2 separate regions of the Homo sapiens genome follow, and region 2 is linked to region 1. Evidence: promoter capture Hi-C in 16 types of primary human blood cells and fetal thymus (Javierre and others, 2016). All regions are on one chromosome and are shown on one strand. The core of a region is centred on a gene start or on the middle of the fragment in contact, and the rest is flanking DNA. Distances in the headings are between cores, read along the strand shown. Region 1 holds the start of CRNN (cornulin). Region 2 has its middle 14 kb from the start of RPTN.

Region 1 (6,814 bases), core at 1,943-4,442:
CTACTTTTCATTTTAAAATAACTATTTTTGGTGTGTAAAGCCTGTTTGCCCAATTGGGCTAATTTTCTGGAAAGCAATCTTAATTTATAGCCCACTAAGTGTGGCAAATACTGCTTGTATCTTGTAGAAATAAATCAAGTAGAGGTCAGCAATACATTGTTGAGTAAGTGTATAAGAAGGAGTCAAAGTGCAAAACTGGGTTTTCATTGCTGAGTTGCTGATCCAGCACCTGGTCTCACTGCCCTCCAGCATACCCGTAAAATGTAACTGCTAAGTAGACTCACTAATGTCAACTTAAATAATAACCACAGTGAATCTCTCTTAAAAAAAAAGTTACCTATTTGAGAATAGGGCATTGCAATGGGAATACATGTGCCATAGTAAACTACGTGCATATTCAGGAGGTAAAGGAAAACAAAAGTTCTTACAGGAAAAACAATGAAAATTACATAATTTTATTGAAATGTGTATTCTTGGCTACAAAGATCAATAACAATGGTGATGCTAATATGAAGTTGGACAGGCAGCTGCTGGACTGATGTCCTCACAGAAGTGTTTGTTGTGTAAGGCTATTATGGCCTTTGTGTAAGGTTGTGGTTTTTGCAGTCTTTTGTGATAGTTGTGTTATCAGGTGTACAAGCATGAGAACTCTCTCTTCGCAGCCTTCCTTAGCTCTATATTTGTCAAGGATTTTTTTGAAGACAAGTGACTCCATTTTGATTCTGACAACTTGCACACTAACTTATAACATCTCCTCACCAACTTTATAAACTAACAAACTTACACAGTCAATTACAGGCTCAGTCCCAATCTCTGCCAACTCATCTCCCCCAGCCCCACCTGCACACTTCAACCCACCTCCACTGGCCCAGCACACACATACAGTTCTTTAACCTCTACTTCTATGGTGCCCCAGCTCCTCACAGCTCAGTCCTGCCCCAGGCACACATAAAGACCTATTAGGCTTTGGAGGCAGGCAGACCTAAGTTCAAATTCAGGTCTAACTTCCTAGCTATGTGACCTTAGGTAGTTTACTTAAGTTTACTTACTTACTCTCTGTGCCTTGGTTTCTTCATCTATAAATTGGGTTAATAATACCTACCAAATATTCATCTTCTAGATACAGCCTCTGGCTTGTTACTTCCCTAACTTACCCTCAGTTCCCAAACCTTTCTGGAAGTTCTAAGCCCCATCAGAAAAAGCTTCAAACACCACCACAGAAGAAGGTCTAATCGGCTCTCCCTCTTGTTCTCCAACTTCACCCTCTCATACTGGCCTTCTTCTAACTCTGATCAGGCAGAAGCAACCTCAGCCCCCTCTTGCTCCCAAAGGTTGAAGCCCCTACTCTGCTTTTCCCTGGCTGGTATGCCTACCCCACCTTCACCCCAGGACTGGAGCCAACCTGTCCCCATGTAGACAGATCTCTCCAAACACAAAGCCTGCATCCTGCCCTCCTGCAGTCTGGAACTCCCCAGTGCTCTGTGCCCTGAGGGGAAGTGCTGGAGGCTGTGCTGTTGCTACAGGGCTGCCCTCAATACACCAGTCTCTTCAACCAAGGCCCTTACCATGCCTTCCTATCCTGTTGTTCCCTTTCCTGTCTGTTGCATGCTGATCTATAAGTGAGGATGGTAAAGATGGCTTTCCCTTCCAGAGTCACTCAGGAAGCTACACAGTATATATTATCTGCAAAGTGCCACTCAAGAGCACTCTTTGGGACTTGGCTTCTGAGCTCAGAAAACTTCCTCCTCAGGAATGGTTCTTCATGCATTGAGGATAAGTGTGATGTTCATAAGGTGCCAAAACTCAATGAGAGAAGAATAAATGGCAGCATGGTGCAACAGAGAGAACACAGGCCTGGAGTCTGAGGGGCTCTAGTCCAGCACCGTCTCCGCTTCACAGAGTGGCTACTTCTCTGAGGATTTCTCAGTGTTCTCATTTATGAATTGGGCTTAGCCATACCACCTCAGAGGATTGCTAGGGAGATCAAATAAGATGAGATGGTAATGAAAATGGAATAAAATCAAATGAAATGAAATGGCAATACCATTATCATTAACCTCTTGGGGACTTACCCCTGGGATGGCCAGGCTATAGACTTCATGAGAGTTGAAACTGCTGCCATCGTATTCAACACTGTATTCCTAGGGCCTTAGCCCTCTGCCTGAAATGGAGCAAGCTTTCCATAAATATTTGCTGATTAGCCACCAGTTGAGTTTCCTGTCCTTGCAATGAGGAGTTACCACATGATCATGGTAAGCCTTTTTTCTCATCAGCTACAAAATGCTACCTACCCATAGCATGGGGTGGGGAAGGTATTAACTTTTTTTGTTTTAATTAAAAATGAGACCAACTTTAAAGAGATGAAACTGGCTTTCTTGTGTCTCATACACTAGGTGTGAAAGGCACTTACAAAACAAGAATTCAAAAAATGTTCTAAGTAATAACAGTTCTAAGTAACATCACCACAAAAACATGTGTGCCCTCTCAGAGTGGCTACTTTGTAAAAGTTAACCTCAATAGATATATTCTTGAACATTTATATTAAAAAAGGAAACAGTGGCCAGGCACGGTGGCTCACACCTATAATCCCAGCACTTTGGGAGGCAGAGGCAGGTGAATCATGAGGTCAGGAGTTCAAGATCAGCCTGTTCAACATGGTGAAACCCTGTCTCTACTAAAAATACAAAAATTAACTGGGCATGGTGGCAGGCACCTGTAATCCCAGCTACTCAGGAGTCTGAGGCAGGGAATTGCTTGAACCCAGGAGGCGGAGGTTGCAGTGAGCCAAGATCGCACCACTGCACTCCAGCCTGGGCGACAGAGCAGGACTCCATCTCAAAAAAAAAAAAAAAAAAAAAAGGAAAGAGTCCCATAACTTTGTAGGCTCATAGAGACAAAGAATGTTCACCAGGACCCCAGCCTGTACCAAGCACTGCTGAGCCCATCACAATGGAAAGAAGCTTCCCTGTCAAGAGGACTCAGCTACAGAAGGTACCAAATGTGGTAGGAGGGGCCTGTTAATTAGACCAAGGCAGTCACACATCAGCAGGTAAAACAGAGACAAGAGGAGGTGTGGCTGGGCTGGGCTGGATCTTGGATGAATCAAGCCTTCCCATAGGGCAGGATATCCTGTCTAAAACAAGAGCCTTGGTTAAAACCCCTATAAAAGGTTCTCATCACACTGACCTGGTACTCCTCACACCACTTAACAGCCACTTGTTTCATCCCACCTGGGCATTAGGTAAGTCCCCTCATAAGAAACCTCTTTCTCATTCTCAGTGTCTTGGTGATCTGAGCTCATAAAACTGGGGCAGTCAGGTATGGACTATGCATCCTTCAGAGCTAGCTGTGAGCACTGGGCAAACCAACGCTACCGTTGGGAAACATGCTCTCCTGAAGCAATCAGGCTTTCTCCTCCTCCCTGAGGCTGGCCTGGGAGCAGCTCCTCTCACTGGGAAACTGTGTGGGCAGCGGCTATGGGGCCACCCATGTGCCTTCCTGGATCAGCAAAGGTTTCTTTTTTCTAAGGCTCTGGAAGCTTCTTTGCAGTGCTGAGAGTCTATGGGATCAGAATCAGTTTACTTATGCCAACCTAGACAATAAGATCAAACTGTGTCATGGATGAAGGGGTTTACATGATTCCCCTCTCCTACACCAGGGTGATATTTAGGCAAAATATGTGTAGATTTTTCTAAGGAATCTAAAATGTAACTAAAAGGTCATCTTATTATTTTATTATCTAAAGGTCAGTGGTTAAAGTCTGCTACATGGTTTTAAAAAAAAAGAAAGATATTTTTCATCTATGTTGAGGAAAACATCCCCAGTTTTTTACCTTGATGAAAAGTTTGCCTGAAATTGTTGGTTACCAGGTCCTAGAAAGGGTTTCTCCTGAACAGCCCACCTTTTGCTATGACTTACTGAGTCCTCATGGCCACACTAATCTGCTTTTTCTAGAACTCAAGTCTCCTTCCTTCCTTTTTTCTCTTTCTTCTCCTACCTATATCTGCCTCGTCCCATCCTCTCTCTGGCTTTCCAGCTGCTACAGGCTCCATCTCCCCTTGCATTTGAGACTTGTCATCTTTGATACCATCTCCTCCTTTGGGTCTCTCCAAGGCTTCTGCTTAATGAATCTTCAAGTCTCTTTTCCTTTTGCTCATGCAACCAAACCCAGGCCTCACCTCAACCTACCTCTAGATTTCTGGCTAATGAAAAAGAAAAGCTTTCCCTTTGATTAGGAACCAACTCATAGGTCACCAGAAATCTGGGCCTGATGGAGCCACGTGCCTGTTGGGCAAGCTGACTTCTCTGATAAGTCTCAGGGCTGTGGACAGAGGCGACATGCAGAGAAACTTGGACCCTCAGAACTGGAAGGCCTCCCACCCAAAGAAGGTTCCCCCCTCCTGAGCATTCCCAGCAGGTGGTAGCCCAGTTTCTTCCCACTTTCCCAAAAAAAACAAGAAGGGAGGGCTGTGTCCCTGGAATTTCTGCTTGGCTCCCATCCAAGACAGGGGTTGACTCACAGATGTATTTACTTCCTTTTGGTGTTCCCGATGGGACCCTAACACCCTTGTGATAAATAAATAAATCCTGTCCACAGGGTACATTCTAGAAAGCCCATTGCATTTGGGTTAAGGAAAAATGGATCCTAGGATTTCTTGGCTCCTTAAAAATTGTGTGGCCTAACTTCTCTGAGCCTGTTTCCTCACCTATAAAAAAAAGTGGAAATAATAAGGATTAGAAGAGATGATGTACAGGAAAGTGATTATATAGGTGTACAAAAATTATATGTGTGTATATGTATATAATAGCATAATAATTATATTTAATAAGGAGCACTTAATATAAGCCAGGCATCTGCCAAGTGCTTTTTATGAATTATGTCTTTAAATCTTCACAATAATCCCACAGAGTACTAATATCACCTTCAATTACAATGAGTAGTAAACTGAGGCATGGAGAGGCAAAGCAACTTGTCCCAGCTCACACCATACTTAAGTGGTGGGGCCAGCATTTAATCCTGACTCAGGAACCTGCCTCCATCCTGTGTGCTCCTCCTTCCCATACATAAGATGCATTATGTAGGAAAGGACAAAGGAAAACTAAAAACAGAGCTGAACGTGCAAGGAAAGACCTAGCAGCAGACGTGCTATAAAGGAAATAGCTGAGGTTGATTATGGAGCCTCCAAGGGAACTTTTCATCTTTTCCAGGTTGACTTCAAAGATGCCTCAGTTACTGCAAAACATTAATGGGATCATCGAGGCCTTCAGGCGCTATGCAAGGACGGAGGGCAACTGCACAGCGCTCACCCGAGGGGAGCTGAAAAGACTCTTGGAGCAAGAGTTTGCCGATGTGATTGTGGTACGGTGTGCTGAGCCGGGTGGAGAGGGGACATAGCAGGAGAGTGAAACCTGGTTTGCCTGCAGAGGCCTTGCCTGGGGAATTTGAGGAGGCAGCAGCTAAACCCAGGCCTGCCGGGACAGATGGCAGCTGTGCAGGCAGAAAAAAAGGTGAAAGAACCAGAGATGGTCATGGGAGTTGGCAAGTCCTGGCTCTTTAGATTAAAACCTTGGTTTTAATTAATTCTAACTTAAAGACAAGGTAAAAGGGCTCTAAAAGGACAACTCAGACAGGAGCAGAGCCTTGGAATATTTCAAAATGAAAATAATTGCTGCTTTCTGCCGCCTCTTAAATTTGATACAGTAAATATTTCCCACGTCTATCTGAAATGTAATCATCCATTCATAGACATTCATTAGAAGCATAGCTCTGGGCTTGCACGAAGCAGTTACTCAAAAATATTAGCAGACTGATCACATCAGAAATGAAATTTTGAAGAGCAGGTTGTTAATAGCTAGGGGGAGACTTTGGAGCCTCACCCCACCCCACCTGGCAAACCAGAACCAAGGCCTTGATGCACTTTCCTGTCTTTGGTTTGCATCTAAAGCAACCAGGATGATGATGGCCTTAGGGACAAGGACATATGGGCACAGAAGGATGCTGCATCCACATGCTCAGGGCAGCGCTGCAGGGGCCCACTGCTTCCCTCCCTCTTTATCATGGGGAAACATCTGGGCCTCAATGAGGAGCGCACAGAATTCCCATGGGGCTGTGTTCCCAACCTGCTGCTCTTTGTGCTGGGCCTGCTGAAGAGACTAAGGCCTCAGTGCCAGGGGCAAGGTGCCAAGGGCAGCCCAGACAGTCAACTTGAGAGCCCAAACAGTTGCATTGTGAATTCAATAATTTATTAACTCTTCAATAAATCTTTATCTAATTTTCCTGTAGCCCAGAAATTGTGCCAAATAGAGGCTACCAAACAAAAAATGCTCTCTACACTTGAGGGAGAGAGACGGGACTAAAAAAAAATAAAGGCAATTAAGTCTTGCTGCTGCTCTAGCCGTATGTGTGTGTAGTGTGGGGTCTGAGGCAGGGGAAGCTGGCAGCAGATTGGAAGGGACCTGCCCATGTCCTCCTCAGGGGAGGGATGCTGACTCCACCTCATCTTCTCCTCAGAAACCCCACGATCCAGCAACTGTGGATGAGGTCCTGCGTCTGCTGGATGAAGACCACACAGGGACTGTGGAATTCAAGGAATTCCTGGTCTTAGTGTTTAAAGTTGCCCAGGCCTGTTTCAAGACACTGAGCGAGAGTGCTGAGGGAGCCTGCGGCTCTCAAGAGTCTGGAAGCCTCCACTCTGGGGCCTCGCAGGAGCTGGGCGAAGGACAGAGAAGTGGCACTGAAGTGGGAAGGGCGGGGAAAGGGCAGCATTATGAGGGGAGCAGCCACAGACAGAGCCAGCAGGGTTCCAGAGGGCAG
Region 2 (6,814 bases), core at 2,294-4,793, 240 kb after region 1:
AAAGCCTTTTTCTTCTCCACATGTATGTTAGCATCAGTTGTAACATTTCTTAGATTTCACTTCAGGAAATTAGTATTTTCTGTACTTTGAAAACATCTCTGCACATAATTGTTCCACATGAACGTTTTATGGAAGCTAATTATTTAGTCATCTCAAACTCAGCATTAATTCCTAAAAAAAACAACTAAACAGTGTCAAAAACATCCTGTAAATTCATCAGGAACCAAGGAAAATCACTCAAAATCATGTGCCTTATTTTTTAATTGACTATTGATGTTGAGCCCAATGTCCTCCCTCACTCTTCACCCAAAAGCTGGTTGTCTTAAGCAAGTTTATTTTCTCTAGACACATTTCTTCAGCTGCTGCAATTGAACGTGATTTAATTAATGCACCATTGATTAACTTGTTTGGCTAACAAATGAGCCACTCAGAAACTTACTTTAGTTGCAGTCTCATTTTCATTTTTTTAATAAAGAAATTCTGCTATGATGACATATTTTATTTTAAATTTCCTAATTTTTCTAACTGTTGCTTCCTGTGAGTTGGAAATATTGTGATTAGTGCTTAGTCTGATCATTTCAACATATAGTCTATTAACACAGCTATAGTGTCATTGCATGATAAACATAATGCTTTGCCATCTAATTCATTACAAACAAAAGAATCCTGCCTTGAAAGTGTGACATTTGAAGTCCATTTCTGTCTTCTTTTTTTGTTTTGACATGATGGGCATGCACTAGTAATTAAAAAGTAAAATAAAACATTATGGTACAACTATAAAGTGGCACTCCCAATGGTGTCAAATTACAATAGCAGTACTGCAATTTTCAGCCCACCCAGAAACATTGAGCAGGTGTTGTCCCATGAAAGCAGCCATATACAATATTATGTAATGAATAAGCAAAGCTGTGTTTCAATACAACTTTATTTATAGACACTAAGATTTGAATTTCATATAATTTTTAGTGTCACAAAGTAGTATTCTTCTTTTGATTTTTTTCAATCAGTGAAAAATGTGAAACCATTCTTAGCTCGTGGGCCTTACAAAAACAGCAGGCTTGATTGGTCCCATGGGCCATCATTTGCCAACCCCTGAATTAAATTATTGTGTTGCCTTAAATGGTTTAGTTGTAGCTGTAGTTGGGGCTACTTGGAATCAGGGAAGTTCACCAGAAGACTTCTAACTTCTCCCCCAATTTGAGAATCTGTTGCACATGTCACAGACTATAGGTGCTATAATCCAATCAAGACCATCAGTTGGGTGAGCATCTACATCCAGCATACTGGGACAGGATAAAAGGGCAGAGGGTAAAAGAGAGATAGGAATAAAGAAGCTACCCTCAAGGAGCTTGCAGTCAAGTTGACAAGATTAGATTTCCACACAGGGACACTAGGAAGATGGGGCAATTTTAACATAAACTTTTAAAACTGTTTAAGGTCTTTTGAATATAGTCAGTATCTAGGAAATATTGGGTGAAGGAATCTGTGGGTAAATGATACAAAGTGTGGCTGTCTCCATACCAAATAGGAGCTCTGTATGGTTGCAACTGTTAGGCCCATAAGTTCTGGGATCTGACTGCCTGGATATAAATCTCACCACTACTATTTTCTACCTCTATGACCTTGGACAAATAATTTAATCTCTTTTAGCCTTAATTTCCTCATGTATAAAATGAGAGTGATAATATTATCTATCTCATAAGCTTGTTGTAAGCATCAAATGAGAGGATGGATGTAAAGTACATAGCATAGTTTAAAGAGCTCGATAAATATTTGGTAAAAGTGTGATTAATAGAGACACGAAGATAAATAGGAGCCTGAGGAATTACAGAAAGCTTCATGAAGGAGGTGGATCATAAAAGAACATGTATAGGCCAGGCATTGTAGCACATGCCTATAATCCCACTACTTTGGGAGGCCAAGGTGGGAGAGTCACCTGAGCCCAGGAGTTCAAGATCAGCCTGAGCAACATGGCAAAATCCCATGTCTACAAAAAATACAAAAATTAATTGGGTGTGGTGGAGCATGCCTGTAGTTCCAGCTACTCATGGGAGGCTGAAGTGGGAGGATCACTTGAGCTTGGAAGGTTGAGGCTTCAGTGAGCCGTGATGGCGCCACTGCACTCCAGCCTGGAGGAGAGAGCAAACCCTGTCTCAAAAAACTAAACTAAACTAAACTAAAAACATGTGTAGACAGAGTAGAAAGAGGAGTTCAGGCAAGGGAGCCAGACACAAGCTTGGACACTTTGTTTGTTAGGGAGTATTCCAGTTTCCTGGTGAAGCAGCTTTAAGGCCAGTGGTGAAAGGATGAGGAATAAAGGCAGAGTTGGTTCCTGTTGACCTTGCAGATAACTAAAAGCACAGTTAGGATCCCCATGAGGTGCCTTGCCTGAACTGAGGGCCCAGCCACTGCCATAAGCACATCAGTGGAAGGGCCAAAGCCAAGAAAGCCACCCAGGGTACTCTCAGGGGGCTTGCTAGATGTGTGTCACCCTTGTCATCACCATCAGCAGTGGCAGCTGATATTTGTTAAGCGTCTATGAGCAAGGCATTGTGCCAAAGAACGAGGATATATAAGACATTTTATGATTTCAAAGAGATTCTAATTCACTCTAGATAGTACAACAGAGCACATCACAACTCCACTGATACTTTCTGTTAATAGGAAGCATAGGTCTTGGGATCCTGGGGTGCTGATTCCAGCACTGCCTAGCGATGTGCCATTGTGTACATGGGCCTCTATTTCCATTTTACAAACAAATCAAATTTGATATTATAGTTTTCAAACTCTTTGACTGCAGAATCCTTTCCTCAGGGAAAAGCTTCAGATGTTTTAAAGATAAAAGCAGTGAGTTGAATGGGGATAAACAGCAGAATCCTGTCTGCTCAGCTCAGCCCCTGACAGGTGCCAAGGAACACAGTTTGAAAAATACTGGATTAGAGCTAAGCAGTGCTGGTCTGTTCCAGCTTGACGACTCTATATGGAGGTAGATGTTGATCTGAACCAAAGAAGCTCTATGAGATAAGATGTGATCCCCAAGTGCAGGTTGGAGAGAGATTAAAGAACTCGAGTGGTTTTGTTGGGAGTGGACATTGAAGGATGGGTAGATTTAAAGAGATTGAGGGGAGAATGAAACCTACTTCAGAGGACTTACCACCTTACTGGAGATGTGGAAATGCACCCAAGGCTAGGCAAAGAGATCATTTTAAGTAGAGCAGGGGAGTTTTGAAGGGGAGATGGAGTCAGAAATAGAAGACAGGACAGATTATGAAGACCCAGATAGAGAAAGGTGTCCTGCTTCTAAGGCCTCTGGTGCCCCCCCCACCCAGATCAGTGGGGTCTGTGACACAAGAACAAGAGAACTACTGAGAAGTCTGCATCAGTTCCCACTGTGGCTGTGGCTGACAATCATCAAGCTTCCCTGACACCTGTCACATCCCTTGTAAGTTCATCAAGTGCCACATTACTAAGCTCTCTTATCACAAAGTCCTATAAGGGAAAGAGGTGGGGTCCAAAGGACAAGGACTTAACACCCAAGACAATTGTGCCCAAATTTTCCAAACAGTAGCTAGTGTGAGCCTAAGGAGAAACAGAACTATTGCCACAGCGAAATCTGAGAGGCTTAGCAATGTCAGGTAGATCTCCTAATTTAGGAGGCGCTAAAAGCTTTTAAACTACCATCATGTCCTTAATCCTAAAATGCCATTAATCCCCTGTAACACTTCTGCATTCTTATGAGTATGTGGGTGGCAATAGCTATTATCTTCATTAAACTGGGAAGTAGAGGCCAAGGAAAAATCAGTCATGATGTCTAACACAACAAGAAATGTGAGATGGGACTTGAAATCTGAGGAAATATTCAGCAAAGAAAGGAGTGGACAGAAGACAAGGACAAAGGACTGGAAATGAAGAAAAGACAAACTCCAACTGAAGATTCCATCTCAGCTGGGAAGCCTTTCCTAATCACCCTCTAGTAAGAACAATGCCCTGCTCTGAGCTGGAAATGTCCTAATGCAGCATCCCTCACACTGTTGGGTAATAACCATTTACCTATTTCCTTTTTTTGGACTGAAAGGTCCACAGAGTCATGGAGCCTCTCTGTCTTGTTCATGGTGTGTCCCCAGCGCCTAATATTTACTGGGTAAAGGAAACTAGAGAGCCTGGGCCAGGGAAGGAAATGAGACTCAGGAGCACACAGTTAAACATAAATAACCCAGCTGCCCAGGACCAAGGAGGCCTCTGGTTGAAGCCAGAGAGAAAACTTCGCCTCCTTCAGGCCATTATCAAATGTCACCTTCTCAGAGGGGCCTTCGCTGGTCACCTGCCCAGTTACAAATCACAACCTGTCCCTGCCCCCCATTCCACCCACCATCCAGCACTTCCTGTCCCCTTCCCTGTATCTTTCTCACCATAGCACTTGGCACTGACATACACACGTTACTTCTTTGTTTATTGTATGTATCCCCAGCCTAGAATGTAAAAGCTGTATGAGGGCAGGATTTCACTGCTGCAAACTCCATCTCTAGAAGAGTGTCTGATACATAGTCGGTTATCAATAAACATTTGTTAAATGAAGAAACCATAGAATGCATGAACCTTTCTAACCCAAGGTCTATGGTAGTCCTCTAAACTTTTCAAATGTAAACACTTCTGCCAGGGTTTCTTCCCTGTGTCTCCCACTTGTGAAGACCCAGGGGAAATACCAATCCCTTATTCTCCACTCGGTCTCTTTCCAACCCTCCATCCCTCCTCTTTGCTCTTAACAACCTCTGTTCTTTGCCCTCTCACTTCTCTCTCTCATTATGTTGGTTCATAGAAACATCCAAAATGGCCAATTTGACACCAGCCCCATGTGTCTTCAGACAAGAGCCTGCCTCTAACTGAGGCCCCAGGAGCAGAATGCAAGAAAGCTAACGAAACCCCCAAGGCTAAATGGCTAGAAAGGTACCCAGATGTTCCAGAAATCTATGAACAGATTCTTACTTTCCACAAGGCACCACTTCTTGGATCGAGGAATTCCCCTAAACTATGCCCTGTTGTGTAAAATAAAACTTCCTTCCCTTTGTCTTAATCTTACCTTTTTCAAGCCTTAAAAAGATGGGACTTCCTTATTCTAGTATTTTAGGTAATTGTGATTATAACTATATTCATATAATACAGGCCTTTCTTGATCTTATAGTCTTCCACTTAACCTTTTCTCTGCTGTCATCCTCTCTAAATGAAGAGACTTGCTTTTACCACTCAATCCTATCAACAAACATTTACCCACCATGCCAGGCACTGTCCTAGGCACTGAGGCTACAAGGTGCTTACTTTCTAGTGGGGGAGAGAGATAATAAATGAACAAATATGTACTAATTCAAGTGACGGTAATAAGTGCCAAGAAGAAAAATAAAGCAGAGTAGTAGAATGGAGAATTAGTGGGAAAAGTTTGCTATTTACAGGATGGCCAGAAATTTTTCTGATAAGGTGACACTTGAGTAAATACTTGAATTAAATGAGGAATTAAATCATGTGACTGAGGGAACAGTATTTCTGTGGAAACAGCAACTACAGAGGCCTTGAAGTAGGAGATTCTTTGTCATCACCTTCTAGTTAACTTTTTCTAATATTTCAAAATTACTTCTTACTTATGGGTTTTGGAGGCCAAAACTGCACTCAGTATTTAAGAAGCCAGTCCACTAAAGACTTTTTATAATGATGATGATAAAAAATAATCATAGTTTACATTCATTGAGGGCTTACTATGTGCCAGTCACTGTATAAGCTCATCCAGCTCATAAGCACCAGAGCCAGCATTCAAACCCAGGCAGTCTGGCTCTAGAGCCAAGTTAGCTAAGAGTATTTCTGTTTCATTTTCTGTACACAGTTCAGTGGCATCCATCATTTGGTTCTCCTTTTTAAGTTATTCACCCGAAGGCATTTCCCAGAGCATGCTGTACGTTAGGAGCTGAGCTGTGAGCTGGGCAAACAAAGATGAATAAACCATCAATGGAGCCCTTAGGAAGGCCACAGCTCTGCATGGAGGACAGGCAAGCCAGGAGAGCAGCACAGAGGATGAGTGCTGCACAGGAGGTGGCAACACAGTGCCGGTAGACACAGCCAAGAGGTTAGCAGACAGATGGACACACTAAGGCACGTGCTCAACAGGCAGTACAGTAATTCCTGGGCCCCCCTTTCCTGGGTCAGAGCCCACTGTTCCATATGGATAATTTGGGTGGGTTTCAGTAAAAATAATAATCATGCTAAGACATCTACGAACAGAAAAATAATATTGAAAGCAGCTAACCTGTCCTGAGTGCCTACTATGTGCCAGCAGAGTTCTCAGCCCCTTGTTTTCATGAAAACTCCATGCTGTGACAGAGATAAGAGGCCCTATAAAGGCCAGCGTCTTGTATGTTCACAATCTAAAGATGGATGCTTACTGAGTAATAGGAAGAGAAAAGGTGGATATCAGGTCTGTTGAGATAAGCCTAGAACAAAAGTACTGGCCTAATATTATGGGCAAGAATTCCTACATTCTGGGAAGACTGAGGTAGAGAGACACTAACATGAGACCAAGATCCTATAATAAAATCAAGCAAAAGCTGGTTTTTCAAAGGAAGGACTCTGCATGAAGCTGAAGCTGCTGATCTAGTATCAGAGACTGGGCCACCCATACAAGGAGGCACAAGGACTACTTACTGGTGAAAATGTAAGAGTGTAACAAGTGAGCGACTGGATTACAGCTGAATCAGCATATACAGATTGCAGCGCAGGTTAACATCTACTTTAGTATACAGTGTTAAGTATGCAAGTGTTGCAGTGTCTGCAA

Evidence for each region. The method cuts DNA at HindIII sites, captures the fragments that hold promoters and counts their contacts. A CHiCAGO score of 5 or more calls a contact.
Region 2: a fragment that was not itself captured here is called in contact with the fragment with the promoter of CRNN in region 1 in 4 of 17 cell types (total CD8 T cells, total CD4 T cells, naive CD8 T cells and 1 more); the score reaches 6.4 in total CD8 T cells.

What each region holds. Positions count from the first base shown.
Region 1 is chr1:152,410,641-152,417,454 of GRCh38, reverse strand. CRNN (cornulin) reads left to right here and starts at 3,192. Exons shown (of 3, transcript NM_016190.3): 1 at 3,192-3,241; 2 at 5,209-5,359; 3 at 6,512-6,814. The coding sequence starts at 5,222. The HindIII fragment of the contact is 578 bases long and covers 2,963-3,540 here.
Region 2 is chr1:152,169,742-152,176,555 of GRCh38, reverse strand. No RefSeq gene overlaps it. Among named protein-coding and RNA genes, the nearest start is that of RPTN, 14 kb to the right of the region's middle. The HindIII fragment of the contact is 250 bases long and covers 3,419-3,668 here.